5 separate regions of the Homo sapiens genome follow, and all the other regions are linked to region 1. Evidence: promoter capture Hi-C in 16 types of primary human blood cells and fetal thymus (Javierre and others, 2016). All regions are on one chromosome and are shown on one strand. Each heading gives the region's core, a stretch centred on a gene start or on the middle of the fragment in contact. The rest is flanking DNA. Distances are from core to core; before and after follow the strand shown.

The links. The method cuts DNA at HindIII sites, captures the fragments that hold promoters and counts their contacts. A CHiCAGO score of 5 or more calls a contact.
Region 2: a fragment that was not itself captured here is called in contact with the fragment with the promoter of BRAP in region 1 in 1 of 17 cell types (non-activated CD4 T cells); the score reaches 5.5 in non-activated CD4 T cells.
Region 3: a contact is called between the fragment with the promoter of NAA25 here and the fragment with the promoter of BRAP in region 1, in 1 of 17 cell types (fetal thymus). The highest score is 5.0, in fetal thymus.
Region 4: a fragment that was not itself captured here is called in contact with the fragment with the promoter of BRAP in region 1 in 1 of 17 cell types (M2 macrophages); the score reaches 5.4 in M2 macrophages.
Region 5: a contact is called between a fragment that was not itself captured here and the fragment with the promoter of BRAP in region 1, in 1 of 17 cell types (fetal thymus). The highest score is 5.3, in fetal thymus.

What each region holds. Positions count from the first base shown.
Region 1 is chr12:111,684,683-111,687,227 of GRCh38, forward strand. It overlaps BRAP (BRCA1 associated protein), which reads right to left and starts at 1,274. Exons shown (of 12, transcript NM_006768.5): 1 at 1,029-1,274. The coding sequence starts at 1,110. It overlaps ACAD10 (acyl-CoA dehydrogenase family member 10), which reads left to right and starts at 1,371. Exons shown (of 21, transcript NM_025247.6): 1 at 1,371-1,557. RefSeq lists enhancers at 1-298, 299-1,000, 1,001-1,702 and a silencer at 1,047-1,146. The HindIII fragment of the contact is 2,811 bases long and covers 477-2,545 here.
Region 2 is chr12:112,127,218-112,129,762 of GRCh38, forward strand. All of the region lies in intron 1 of TRAFD1 (TRAF-type zinc finger domain containing 1), which reads left to right. Among named protein-coding and RNA genes, the nearest start is that of TRAFD1, 2.9 kb to the left of the region's middle. The HindIII fragment of the contact is 4,265 bases long and covers 1-2,545 here.
Region 3 is chr12:112,107,506-112,110,050 of GRCh38, forward strand. NAA25 (N-alpha-acetyltransferase 25, NatB auxiliary subunit) reads right to left here and starts at 1,278. Exons shown (of 24, transcript NM_024953.4): 1 at 1,211-1,278. The coding sequence starts at 1,268. RefSeq lists silencers at 1,048-1,127, 1,148-1,227. The HindIII fragment of the contact is 1,965 bases long and covers 246-2,210 here.
Region 4 is chr12:112,049,642-112,052,186 of GRCh38, forward strand. All of the region lies in intron 15 of NAA25 (N-alpha-acetyltransferase 25, NatB auxiliary subunit), which reads right to left. The region is part of intron 1 of LOC124903022 (a long non-coding RNA gene); the gene reads left to right. Among named protein-coding and RNA genes, the nearest start is that of MIR3657, 13 kb to the left of the region's middle. The HindIII fragment of the contact is 5,003 bases long and covers 1-2,545 here.
Region 5 is chr12:112,013,157-112,015,701 of GRCh38, forward strand. ERP29 (endoplasmic reticulum protein 29) reads left to right here and starts at 270. Exons shown (of 3, transcript NM_006817.4): 1 at 270-453. The coding sequence starts at 310. TMEM116 (transmembrane protein 116) reads right to left here and starts at 9. Exons shown (of 11, transcript NM_001193531.2): 1 at 1-9. RefSeq lists silencers at 94-173, 514-603 and an enhancer at 1,604-1,743. The HindIII fragment of the contact is 577 bases long and covers 990-1,566 here.

The DNA of each region.
Region 1 (2,545 bases), core at 24-2,523:
TTTGAAATGGACTTTATCTCTTGTCGCCCAGGCTGGAGTGCAGTGCCACAATCTTGGCTCACCGCAACCTCCACCTCCCGGGTTCAAGCGATTCTCCTGCCTCAGCCTCCCCAGTAGCTGGGATTACAGGCACCTGTCACCACGCCCAGCTAATTTTTGTATTTTTAGTACAGACAGGGTTTCACCATGTTGGCCAGGCTGGTCTTGAACTCTCAACCTCAGGTGACCCGCCCGCCTCGGCCTCCCAAAGTGTGAGGATTACAGGCGTGAGCCACCGCGCCCGGCCAAGTATTTCTTGAATGAATGTTAGTTAATTATCTGAGGACCAAGGAACAGAGCCAGAGCTGCATTCCCCACTAAGGAGCTTCCTCACTTGTGTTAATGGTGTAAAAAGCTCAGACTCAAGTCCAGCTCACTGAGTTAGAATCCCAGTTTCACCCATTACAGATAACCTTGGGCAAATCAATTAATCACTAAGCTTCAGTTTCCCAATGTGTAAGAGGTACATGTCACATCCATCTGCCTCTTAGGGCTGTTGCAAAGATAATTAAAGAATACAATACACAAAAGGTGCTTAGTACAGTGCTGGGATATAGGAAGTGTCCAAATTTTAGTTATGACTATGGTTAGGGGGCACTTCAATGGATATCGTTCCAAAAGGGAACAATTTAATTAACCCAGGGACCGTCCAGCGTTGCTGGGGACCCAGTCCCTGCCTTTACGAAGCCCATAGGGAAGCAAGTGAGACAAACACACCACTCGACTATCTCGAGAGGGAGACGCGCCAGGTATAAACTAAATGCCCTCAGACGGCACAGGGAGGGAGGTTCGGGGCAGGGCTTCCCTGAGATAACAAACGGGAAGGCCTCTCAAAGGCGGATGGGAAAGAGAGGGATCCCGATTACCTCTCCGTGTCTTCCTGGGCAACAGCCCTCGCCGCGGGCTTTTCCCGGGCCAGTGCTTTGGGAAGGGAAGCCCTCCGGGCCCAGACCCGGCTACAGGGAATGCGGCGAGGCCGCGGGACTCACCCGCGGCGCTGAAGCCGAAGCCGGCGGGGACAGGCGAGTGTTCCGCGAGCTCCAATCGGATAACAACCAGTGACACACTCATAGGGCAGGCGCTGGCCGGCGCGGGCCCCGGCGGGCTCAGGCGAGGCTGGAAGGCGAGCCGAGAGGCCGAGCGGCCCGGGGCCGGCAGCGCCGCCACCACCTCAATGCAGTTGCCGCCGCCTCAGCAGCAGCAGCTCCTCGAACAGCCCTCGGAGCCACAACAACCTCCACTTCCGCCTCCCGGCCGCCGTCGCTGACCTGCGGTTTACGCATGCGCGCAGGACCGCGCACAGCGATTGGGCGGCGTGGCAGGGGTCACCCACTGCTCTTCCGGACGCAATTTTGAGGAGGTCGGAGCGGAAGGACGTCGTGGAGATTGCTTGCGCTGGGGTGCCACACTTAGGCTGAGCTGCAGGTTTTCGCACAGTCGCGAGTTAACCTCTGCTTGCTCCAGAGGCCTCGTCCTAATCCACCTCGGCTGACGGCGCGGGATCCCTGGCTCCGCGAGGTCTCCGAATTGTCCGAGCTATCTGCTATGCAGAACTTTGCCCCTTTTGTTGTGTTTGACTCCTGTCTCTAACCCTAGTCTGGATGGTTTTGTTTCTGTCCCACTTTACAGATAGGTACAACGAGGCTCAGAGAGGTGAAGTTCCTTCTAAGGGGCCGTAGAGAGTGGAGAGTCGATCGCTGTTCAGATAGCGATCTGGCTGGGCGCGGTGGCTCACGCCTGTAATCCCAGCCCAGAGGCTTAGGCGGGCGAATCACCTCAGGTCAGCAGTTCGAGACCAACCTGGCCAACATGGTGAAACCTCGTCTCTACTGAACATACAAAAAATTAGCCGGGCTTGGTGGCGCGCGTCTGTAGTCCAAGCTACTTGGGAGGCTGAGACAGGAGAATCGCTTGAACCCGGGAGGCGGAGGTTGCAGTGAGTCGAGATAGTGCTAGTGCACTCCCGCCTGGGCAACAAGAGCGAAACTCCGTCTCAAAAAAAAGAGAGAAAAGATGGTGATCTGCTGGTTACGAGCATAGTGCTGCAGTTAGACCGGGGTCCTCCTCCCCACCCTGTCACTTCACAAATGTTTACTGAGAGTCTAGACACCCTTGGGATGCTTGAGATACGTTGGCGTATAAGATAAACACAGTTCCTGTCCGTACTATGAGGTTGACCTACATCAGCAGTTGTGCAGTCTTGAACTAGTATAGTCATTGCATAAAGTTGGCATGATATCATGTCCTCATGCAGTTGTGAGGATGAAATGGAATTATGTATATGGAGATAACATTAGCTTTTCTGAGGCTCAGCATTCTTTCCAGTATGTCAGAGTGGCTTTTGTATGTAGATACTGACACAATCAATGCATATGGGACACATACATGACAGGATGCTACTCTAGGTACATTGTATAATGATACATATGTAAGTACATAGTACATTCTAGATGTGTGTGTGTGTGGACATAGTGCGTTCTAGATGTGTGTGTATCTGGACTATGAC
Region 2 (2,545 bases), core at 15-2,514, 440 kb after region 1:
TCAGTTCTTAATTTAAATGTCGTCTCCCCAGAAAGTTCTTCCCTGACCACTCTTATCTACCTAAAGTAGATTTGCCTCTATTCCGCCCCCATTTATTTGTCAGTATACTTTTCCATCACAATACTCAAGTTATATGTATTTTTTTGCTTATTGTTTTTCTCTACCACTAAATCGCTTTATCAGAGACTATATTTCCTTATTTTGTAAAGTATTTTTAGTGCCAGGGCACAGTGGCACACAGTATGGTCTTCTTTTTCTTTGAGACAGGGTCTCACTCTGTCACCCCGGCTGGAGTGCAGTGGTGTGATCACAACTCACTCACTGTAGCCTCGACCTCCTGGGCTCAAGCCTCCCAAGTAGCTGGGACTACCTCAGCCTCCCACCCCAGCCTCCCAAGTAGCTGAGATTACAGGCATGTGCCACCATACCCACCTAATTTTTTGCTTTTTTGTTTTTTGTTTTTTTTGAGAGGGAGTCTCGCTCTGTCGCCCAGGCTGGAGTGCAGTGGCGTGATCTCGGCTCACTGCAAGCTCTTTTTAGTAGAGACTGGGTTTCACCATGTTAGGCAGGATGGTCTCGATCTCCTGACCTTGTGATCCACCTGTCTCGGCCTCCCAAAGTGCTGGGATTACAGGCATGAACCACCGCACCCGGCTGCTTATTTTTTATAAAGGCAGGGTCTTACTATGTTTCCTGGCTGGCCTTGAACTCCTGAGCTCAAGTGATCCACCCACCCCAGCCTTCCAGAGTGCTGGGATTACAGGTGTGAGACACTGCACCTGGCCCACAGTATTGTCCTTTTTTTTTTTATTTTTATTTTTTGAGACAGAGGCTCACTCTGTTGCCCAGGCTGGGGTGCAGTGGTGTGATCCTGGCTTACTGCAACCTCCACCTCCCGGGTTCAAGCAATTCTGCTTCAGCCTCCCTAGTAGCTGGGACTACAGGCACCCGGCTAATTTTTTTATTTTTAGTAGAGAGGTGTTTCGCCATGCTGGCCAGGCTGGTCTTGAACTCCTGACCTCAAGTGATCCGCCCACCTCAGCCTCCCAAAGTGCTGGGATTACAGGCATGAGCCACTGGACCCAGCCTCAAAGTATTGTCTTAATTAAGCATGTTGAACAAATGACTAAATACATGTTTTGAAAAGTGGCAACTCGCTTGATAATGCCAAAACCTTTAAAGAACCCTACTGGGGGCAGGATTTAAGACCATTTTTGTATCATGGAAAGGAATAATCTAAACTAAACAATGGTAGTAAAGTTGCCAGTGCTTTGCTTTCTGCATTGACATCTTGTTTAAAAAGCAGGAGAAACTTTATAGTGAAGAAATTTGGCAGACACCATATCAACTATGTGATCATGGTTTACATCAATAGTAAAATAAGACTGTTGACATCATGTACCTTCTGATATAAGGCACTGAGATGAGCACAACATGATTTCTATGGTGTTCTTGCCAAAAATATATAACCTGAATTTAATCATGAGAAAATATCAGACAAACCCAAATTGAAGGATATTATATAAAATAACTAGCTGGCTGGGCACGGTGACTCATGCCTGTAATCCCAGCACTTTGGGAGGCTGAGGCTGGCTGGTGGATCATATGAGGTCAGGAGTTTGAGACCAGCCTGGTCAACATGGTGAAACTCCATCTCTACTGAAAATACAAAAATTAGCTGGGCATGGTGGTGCACACCTGTGGTCCCAGCTACTCAGGAGGCTGAGGTCGAGGTTGCAGTGAGCCGAGATCGCAGTGAGCCGAGATCGCACCACTGCACTCCAGCCTAGACAGCAGAGTGAGACTCTGTTTAAAAAAAAAAAAAAAAAAAAAGCCAGTATGCTTAACAAGGTCATGAAAGAGAAGGAAAGACTGAAGAACTCTCCCAAATCAAAGGAGATTAACTACAAGTAATAGCCAAATGCAGTGTGTGATCCTAGATTGAATGCTGAACCAGAAAAAGGGTGGGATGGTGATTTTTTTTTTTTTTTTTTTTTTTTTTGAGACAGGATCTCACTCTGTCACCCAGGCTAGGGTGCAGTGGTACAATCACTGCTCACTGCAGCTTTGACCTCCTGGGCTTAAGTGATCTTCCCATCTCAGCCTTCTGAGTAGTTGGGACCACAGGTGTGTGCCACCACGTCTGGCTAATTTTTAAATTGTTTGTAGAGAAGGGTTTCACCATGTTGCCCAGGCTGATCTTAAACTCCTGGGTTCAAGCGATCCTCTTCAGCTCAGCCTCCCAAAGTTCTGGGAGTACAGGCATGAGCCCCTGTGCCTGACTTGTTGGTGAAATTTGAATGAATTCTATAGATTAGTTACTAGTATTGTATTAGTGTTAATTTCCTCTATTTGATAATTTTACTATTGTTATGATGCTTTTAGGGTAATTGGATGAAGTCTGTAAGGGATGTTATTTTATTTTTATTTATTTATTTATTTTTGAGACGGAGTCTTACTCTGTCGCTAGGGTGGAGTGCAGTGGCACGATCTTGGCTCACTGCAACTTCTGACTCCCTGGTTGAAGCGATTCTCCTGCCTCAGC
Region 3 (2,545 bases), core at 28-2,527, 420 kb after region 1:
ATAATGAGTCATCTATAAACCTTAGCTATAGGATTGTTGCTAAAATCAAATGAGATGTGAGAGTAAAAAAAAAAATCACACAAATTATGAAATAAAAGCCGGACTAACTGTGGCCAGAAACAAAGTTAACCACCGCCCCCCGCTCCCAAAACGATTCCCACCTTGGAGAGAAGCCTCCAATTTAGTAACATCCACATGAGGTCTATAAATACGATGTCTACTTTTGTAAAAACCACTGACCTTGAAGCTTCCTCACCATTAAGTGAGATAGACCAAGACCATAAAACCATCTAAGAGGAAAGGAAATGCAAAAAGGACCAATCCAATTACACATTTCGGTTATTGGAAAAGGGTTTCTCCCAAACTCAAAATCTGTGATTTTTCACTACCAGGGTAAATGGATGAGATGACATCAAGGTCTTCAAGTCTGCGGGTTGAGGTAAGAGTTGTGGAGAGGGATCTGCTTAGCACAGGGAAGGAAAGCTGCAGAGAAAACCACAGAGAAGCTGCAGAAAGGAGAAGCCCTCCAGTAGCTCTGCATGCCCCTCTGACACGAGCTATCACAATCTCTTCACCGCTATTTTAGGCCCAAGACCCCCTCCCCCCGCCTCCCACGTGTGACCAGAGTAGCTGCTTCTCCACCCAACAGCTCTGGATTGGGAGCCTGGAATCTCGGGCCTGCTCCTGACTCGATCTGGGTGACCTTGCGTCAGCCCCTTCCCCACTCCGGACCTCAGTTTCTCCTATGCACCGAAGCCCACCTAGTCAGACAACCCTCTAGGCCCAATTCCCGTAAATAAAAAAAAATCTCTGGTAGGGAATCTTCCCTCAGGCAGGGCGTCCCACCCTCGTGCCGGAGCCGGCTTCCACCTTCGGGGAGATCTCCGGTCTCCCTAGGAGCGGCGGTAACGATGCAGCCTGCGGGTAGCGCAGGTGTCTGCAGAACCACGCGTCCCACGGGGCCTGCCAAGCAGGCCAGCTCTGCCGACCAGCTGCTGCCCAGACCGCGCCACTACCACCCCAAGGCTGAGGAAGGTTGGGCCGGCGCCTACGCGAGGCCCGCGGCTGCGGCCTAGTGGCCCGCGCGGCCCGCCCCCCTGCGCCTGCCCGGCCCGCGCGCCGGCCCTCAGCACCCCTCCTGGGCTTTCGCCCCAGCCTCGGCAGCCCTCGGCGCGTCGGGCTGGCGAGCGGGCTGGTCCAAGACACTCACCGTAAATGGGCCGGAGGCGCCTGTCGTTAGGGTCCTGCACATGGCCCCGCGTCGCCATGATGACAAGCGCAGAACCACAGTGCGCACGCGCGGGGCAGGACCCCGGGAAAGGGCTATTAAAGGGCCAGCGTCGATCTCGCTTGTCTATCACGATAGTCGCGGTGCTGCGACTGAACGCGCCTGCGCGGAAAGGGAAGCATCCACCCTTGCCGATTGCCACCTCTTTAAACGCTGTTCCTTCACTTAGCAGGTGGGATCAAGCTGGCAAGAGGAGGCAGCTGTTGCTGTTAAAGTCTTCCGAGTCACTGACTGGGAAGTTAGGAGAGGAGGGGAGAAAGCTCTCAAAGTTAGGGTTCGGCTGCTCCTGTTTATCCTATTTATTCTCCGTCCTGAAGAACCAGCTAGACTTGGCTGTGATTAATCGCAGAGGAACCAGAAACTCCCGGGGGAGAGAGACCCAGGGGAAAGTTGGGGAAGCGGGGCTGATCAACAGCAAAAATCTGCCAAAAAAGTTCGAGAGAGCCGGGCGCTGTGGCTCAGCCTGTAATCCCAGCACTTTGGGAGGCCGAGGCGGGCGGATCACAAGGTCAGGAGATCGAGACCATCCTGGCTAACACGGTGAAACCCCATCTCTACTAAAAATACAAAAAAAGTTAGCGGGGCGTAGTGGCGGGCGCCTGTAGTCCCAGCTACTCATGAGGCTGAGGCAGGAGAATGGCGTGAACCCAGGAGGCGGAGCTTGCAGTAAGCCGAGATCGCGCCACTGCACCCCAGCCTGGGCGACAGAGCGAGACTCCATCTCAAAAAAAAAAAAAAAAAAAGAAAAAAGTTCGAGAGCCCTCCACCACCTGTTCCTGGACCAAACTGAGCGTCAGGCTGCTGTTTCTCCTGGTTCAGTAAGGAGATGCAGATGAACTGGAGAGGAAGCGAGTTTTTATTTCTGCAACCAGTTACAGGGAGAAGGCCTGGAAATTATCACCAGACCAACTTAAAATTACAAAGCTTTCCAGAGCTTATATACCTTCTAAGCTATATGTCTACGTGTAAATGTGCATTCATCTAAAGACATAAGTGATTAACTCGCCGGGCGCGGTGGCTCATGCCTGTAATCCCAGCACTTTGGGAGGCCAAGGCGGGCGGATCACGAGGTCAGGAGATCGAGACCACGGTGAAACCCCATCTCTACTAAAAATACAAAAAATTAGCTGGGCGCAGTGACAGGCGCCTGTAGTCCCAGCTACTAGGGAGGCTGAGGCAGGAGAATGGCGTGAACCCGGAAGGCGGAGCTTGCAGTGAGCCGAGATCCCGGCACTGCACTCCAGCCTGGGCGAGGGA
Region 4 (2,545 bases), core at 30-2,529, 360 kb after region 1:
AAAATTAAAAAGATTACTTGTGATCCTGCAGGTTTCAAGAAGGACTACCTGAAAAAGCTCGAGTATACCTTCTAGCTTGATTAAAGGACAGTGATACACCCTATCAAGAGGAGGCCAGGATACTCTAAACACATATGCCTATCCTATGGCCCCTTGGCTTAGAAAACACAGCAAGGTTTACTACTATTAGCCCTTGTAATAGGAACTTACAGCTGGGGAAAAAAAAACAGCTGGTTAGGAACACATGATTCAGTAATTAATCAAAAAGAAAATATGACTTTAGTAATTCCAATCAAAGTTATAATTACAGTTCCAAAGTATGCTATGATTTAAGGAGGGAACCCAGCCTTACCAAGTGTAGAGGCAGTTTTAATTTCTAAGTGGTCCGTGGAACACCACTTTATTTAAAAAAAAAAAAAAAAAAGGCAATAGCTTTTCAAAGAGAAAAATAAGGGGCAACAAAGAGAGTATAGTCTTTAACAAACTAAGAAGGTAGTCACAGTTCTCTGGCTTATCTTTTTTAGATAGTCCTTCTGTAACACTGCAGTAAAGTACCACTGCAGAGCTAGACAAGGGCCTGGGATGCAACCACTAGGACCAAGGCTGTGGAAGTAGTACTACGTGAAGAAACAACCCCCTACTGGAACTGCAGGCAAAACTGAAAGCCACAGGCACTTTAAAGACTTTTGAATATCAAAGTATGTTGTCCGTACCTATTTTCTACTCATTTATGCACCAATGAGGCTATTTAGATCCCGAATGGATTCCTGAAATGAACCCTGGTCACTGTAAAAATTAGTGAAATATATGGACATAAAACCCCTGAATAATGACCTTTGTGAATACCTAGAGATTATATTTTCTTTTATTTACTTTTTTTTTTTTTTGAGACAGAGTCTCACTCTGTCATCCAAGAGTGACAGCTGGAGTGCAGTGGTATGATCTCAGCTCACTGCAACCTCCACCTCCCAGATTCAAGCAAGTCTCCTGACTCAGCCTCCCAAGTAGCTGGAATTACAGGCGCTCGCCAACACACCCAGATAATTTTTGTATAAAATAGAGATTTTAAAGGGAAATTTTTAAGAAGTAAAAACACGTAAGTGACTTTTAAAGATATGAAAATCTAGTGCTTATTTTCATATTTTTAAAAATCTATTCCAAAGTAAGATGACAACAGAAAATAACCTTTCTAGAAAGAAAATCCCTATGCAGACCTTCCAAATACAACTTTCAATCCCATAGCACAAAACATTACTAAGCAAAACACTAGATTTTCCATTTAAGTAAAAGTGTCCTGTCAAAGAGCTAGGTGGGAATTGAAATGCATCAGTCACCCAAGGAAAAAGCATCCGGGGATCCCAAAAACTACCAAGAATAAAAGATGCATAGTATAGAGCTCTGGATTTGAAGAGAGATATTTCTGATACTCTAAGCACAAGGTTGAACACACACAGTAAGACACTACAATCATAATCTTTCTTAGCCTTAGATTTCTTTAGGAAACAGTTCACACCACAGTCTCTATCTGGCACTCAACATTAAGGTCAAGCTACATGTTCCTAGCTGTACCATATTTTTCTTTTTTGGTGGGGGGACAGAGTCTCTCTCGTCACCCAGGCTGGAGTATAATGGTACAATCAGCTCACTGCAACCTCCACCTCCCGGGTCAAGCAATTCTCCTGCCTCAGCCTGCCGAGTAGCTGGGATTACAGGCACCTACCACCATGCCTGGCTAATTTTTGTATTTTTAGTAGAGATGGGGTTTCACCACGTTGGCCAGGCTGGTCTTGAACTCCTGACCTCAGGTGATCCACCCACCTCGGCCTCCCAGTGCTTGGATTACAAGCGTGAGCCACTGTGCCCAGCCTGTACTGTATTTTTCTTTTGCCTCTAGGACTCTTCAAGATTATCTCCTGTCAGCAGATTTAATAAGCTCTATCTTCTTAGCGGTAATCAAAATATATTTCAAGTGTCCTAGTCTCTGATCAATAAAATGCTATAATTTTATCAGGTTCAACATCACATACATTCAGATGAATTAGTCACTTTTGCCACACACAACCATCAGCAAAACATAAAACAAAGATACAAAAAAAACTCTGAGGATGACACATCCCCTCAAATTGCTCCTAGGGGTCTCCTTTGCCTATATTGCAACACTTTTGTAATTTTATTTTTAGATTTTCTTTCAAAACAACTCTTCAGACACAATATTTGTGGGAAAAAATTAAAGCCTAATTCTGATGTATATAAAGTAATGTGTCTTTATTGACCACATCTTCATGAGTAATACAGTTCTTCTAGAATGCTGCATGATTGAAAGCTAGAGGAAAACCAGCCACCGGGCTGGAATTAATCCCTGATTTACTCCCACTACCTCAAAGCTATTTGAGAAACAAACCTTTGAAAAGGAATCTTCAGTAAATCAAATGTTTCTTTCATCTCTCTTATAAATACAGAAATGAGGCCATAAATAATGAGATGAGGAAACCAATCCTTTTGATTTTTTTTTTGAGTTAGTGAAACCTCTTGAAAACAGGAGGGC
Region 5 (2,545 bases), core at 28-2,527, 330 kb after region 1:
AACGGAACTGGGCGGACCCGCCGGAAGACTCGGCGAGTGCGCGCGCGCAGGAGCCCATTTTCCCGCCCGCAACGTGGCCCCGCCCTTTTACCCAGGCCCTACGCGAGCTTCGCCGAGTACGCGTGCGCAGCAGCTTCCCCTCCCTCGCCCCGCCCCTCACGTGGCCCCACCCTCTCACCCTAGACAGATGGGAGCCTCCTGGGGTGTCCACGTGAGCGCGCGTGAGTCCGCCCCCCCAGTCACGTGACCGCTGACTCGGGGCGTTCTCCACTATCGCTTACCTACCTCCCTCTGCAGGAACCCGGCGATATGGCTGCCGCTGTGCCCCGCGCCGCATTTCTCTCCCCGCTGCTTCCCCTTCTCCTGGGCTTCCTGCTCCTCTCCGCTCCGCATGGCGGCAGCGGCCTGCACACCAAGGGCGCCCTTCCCCTGGATACGGTCACTTTCTACAAGGTAACCGGGGCGGGGGACGTCGCGCGCAGGTGCCGCCGGGGCGCCCGGAAGAGCGCGCGCCCGTGGGGAGACGCTGGATTCCGGGAGCTGACGGGAGGTGGTCTGTAGCAACGGTCCCAGAGCTTCCCGGCGTCCTACAGGCCTAGTGGACTCTGAGCGGAGAATGTTATGACCACCGGGCATGCACGCTTCAGGGCCCCGGCGCACCCTTGCTTTTGCAGCATTTATACTTGCATCCACCCTTGCAAAGATGCAGCCGAGGGAACTGGGTGCCCCTTCCCTTCACCTGTGGGGAGAGGGCGGTGCCTGGCGAGATCCAACCCTCGAGTCCCAAGTGGGAGAACCGGAGGGCGGTGCGAGGTCGACGCCACCGGGCTCCCGGCTGTGGAAGCTGGGAGGGGTTGGCGGGGGGAAATGCAGGCGCGTTAGCCTGCGTGTCCGCGCCCCTCTTCCCAGGGTTGGATTGCAGCCTGCTTTGCAGTGTGCAAACAATGATCAGATATCATACATCTTGAATAGTGCAAGCGTGAAGAATAAGCTTCAGTTCAGCCACCCTGTAAAGCAGGGGTCCCCAACCACCAGGCCCGTCGGTGGCCTGTTAGAAACCGGGCCGCACAGCAGGAGGTGAGCGGCAGGCGAGCTAGCACTACAGCCTGAGCTCCGCCTCCTGTTACATCAGCTGCGGCATTACATTCTCATAGGAGCACGACCTTTATTGTGAACTACGCATGTGAGGGATCCAGGTTGTGTGCTTCTTATCAGAATCTAATGCCTGATGATCTGAGGCGAAACAGGTTCATGTCGAAACCACCCAACCCCGTGGAAAAGTTGTCTTCCATGAAACCAGTTCTTGGTGCCAAAAAGGTTGGGGATAGCTGTTGTAGGAAACATCTTGGGGTTGGCAACAAAATCAGTAAAATTGGGTCAAGGCATGGAAGAATTTGCCACTACCTCCGCCTTTCCCCCCTTCCATTTTTGCAGAATTAGGGATCCTGGCCTGAGTAAATGGACGGTTGGAAATGGTGGCTGAATGCAACACCGCAGTCCCAGTCCCCTCCTCTTGCACCTGTCTTCACCCACGAGCAGCTTTTAACTTCCTCTAGGAGATGGGCAAGCTTAGTGTTGCGAGAGAGCCAGTCATTTCATTTTCAGGTTTTGTACTCATTGTGGGGAAGTGAAACCAAGAAGTAGTTGTCTCCAGTGGTTGAAGTCTCCTATTTTCAAGCGTTCCCTGTCGTGGATTTGGCACTTGCAGCTCATTCAAGGCAAAGTTTCAAGAATTTAAAAGTGTAGGCCGGGCTTAGTGGCTCACGCCTGTAATCCCAGCACTTTGGGAGGCTGAGGCGGGTAGATCACCTGAGGTCAGGAGTTTGAGACCAGCCTGACCAACAAGGTGAAACCCCGTCCCTACTAAAAATACAAAAATTAGCTGGGCGTGGTGGTGGACACCTGTAGTCCCAGCTCCTCGGGAGGCTTAGACAGGAGAATTGCTTGAACCCAGGAGGCGGAGGTTGCGGTGAGCCAAGATCACGCCACTGCACTCCAGCCTGGGCGACAGAGCAAATACTCCGTCTCAAAAAAAAAAAAAAAAGTGTGGGCTGGGTGCGGTGGCTCATGCTTGTAATCCCGGCACTTTGGGAGGCTGAGGCAGGTAGATCACCTGAGGTCAGGAGTTGGAGACCAGCCTGGCCAACATGGTGAAACCCTGTCTCTACTAAAAATACAAAAATTAGCTGGGCGTGGTGGCGGGTGCCTGTAATCCCAGCTACTCGGGAGGCTGAGGCAGGAGAATTGCTTGAACCTGGGAGGTGGAGGTTGCAGTAAGCCGTCATCATGCCATGACACTCCAGCCTGGGCAACAAGAGCAAAACTCTGTCTCAAAAAAAAAAAAAATGGTGTAGGTGTGGCTGATTGGTTGTCAGGCATGCTCAGACACACCCTACAGCACCCTATGCTTTGGGGGCCTTTACTGGCAAAATGACACCCCTACCCCACCCTGCTCCATGGGAATCAGATAATATCACAGAACAAGTGTGACCCAAAGGGAAACTTTGCGCCATAAAGCTAACAGTGTTTTCTACTATTACCACCC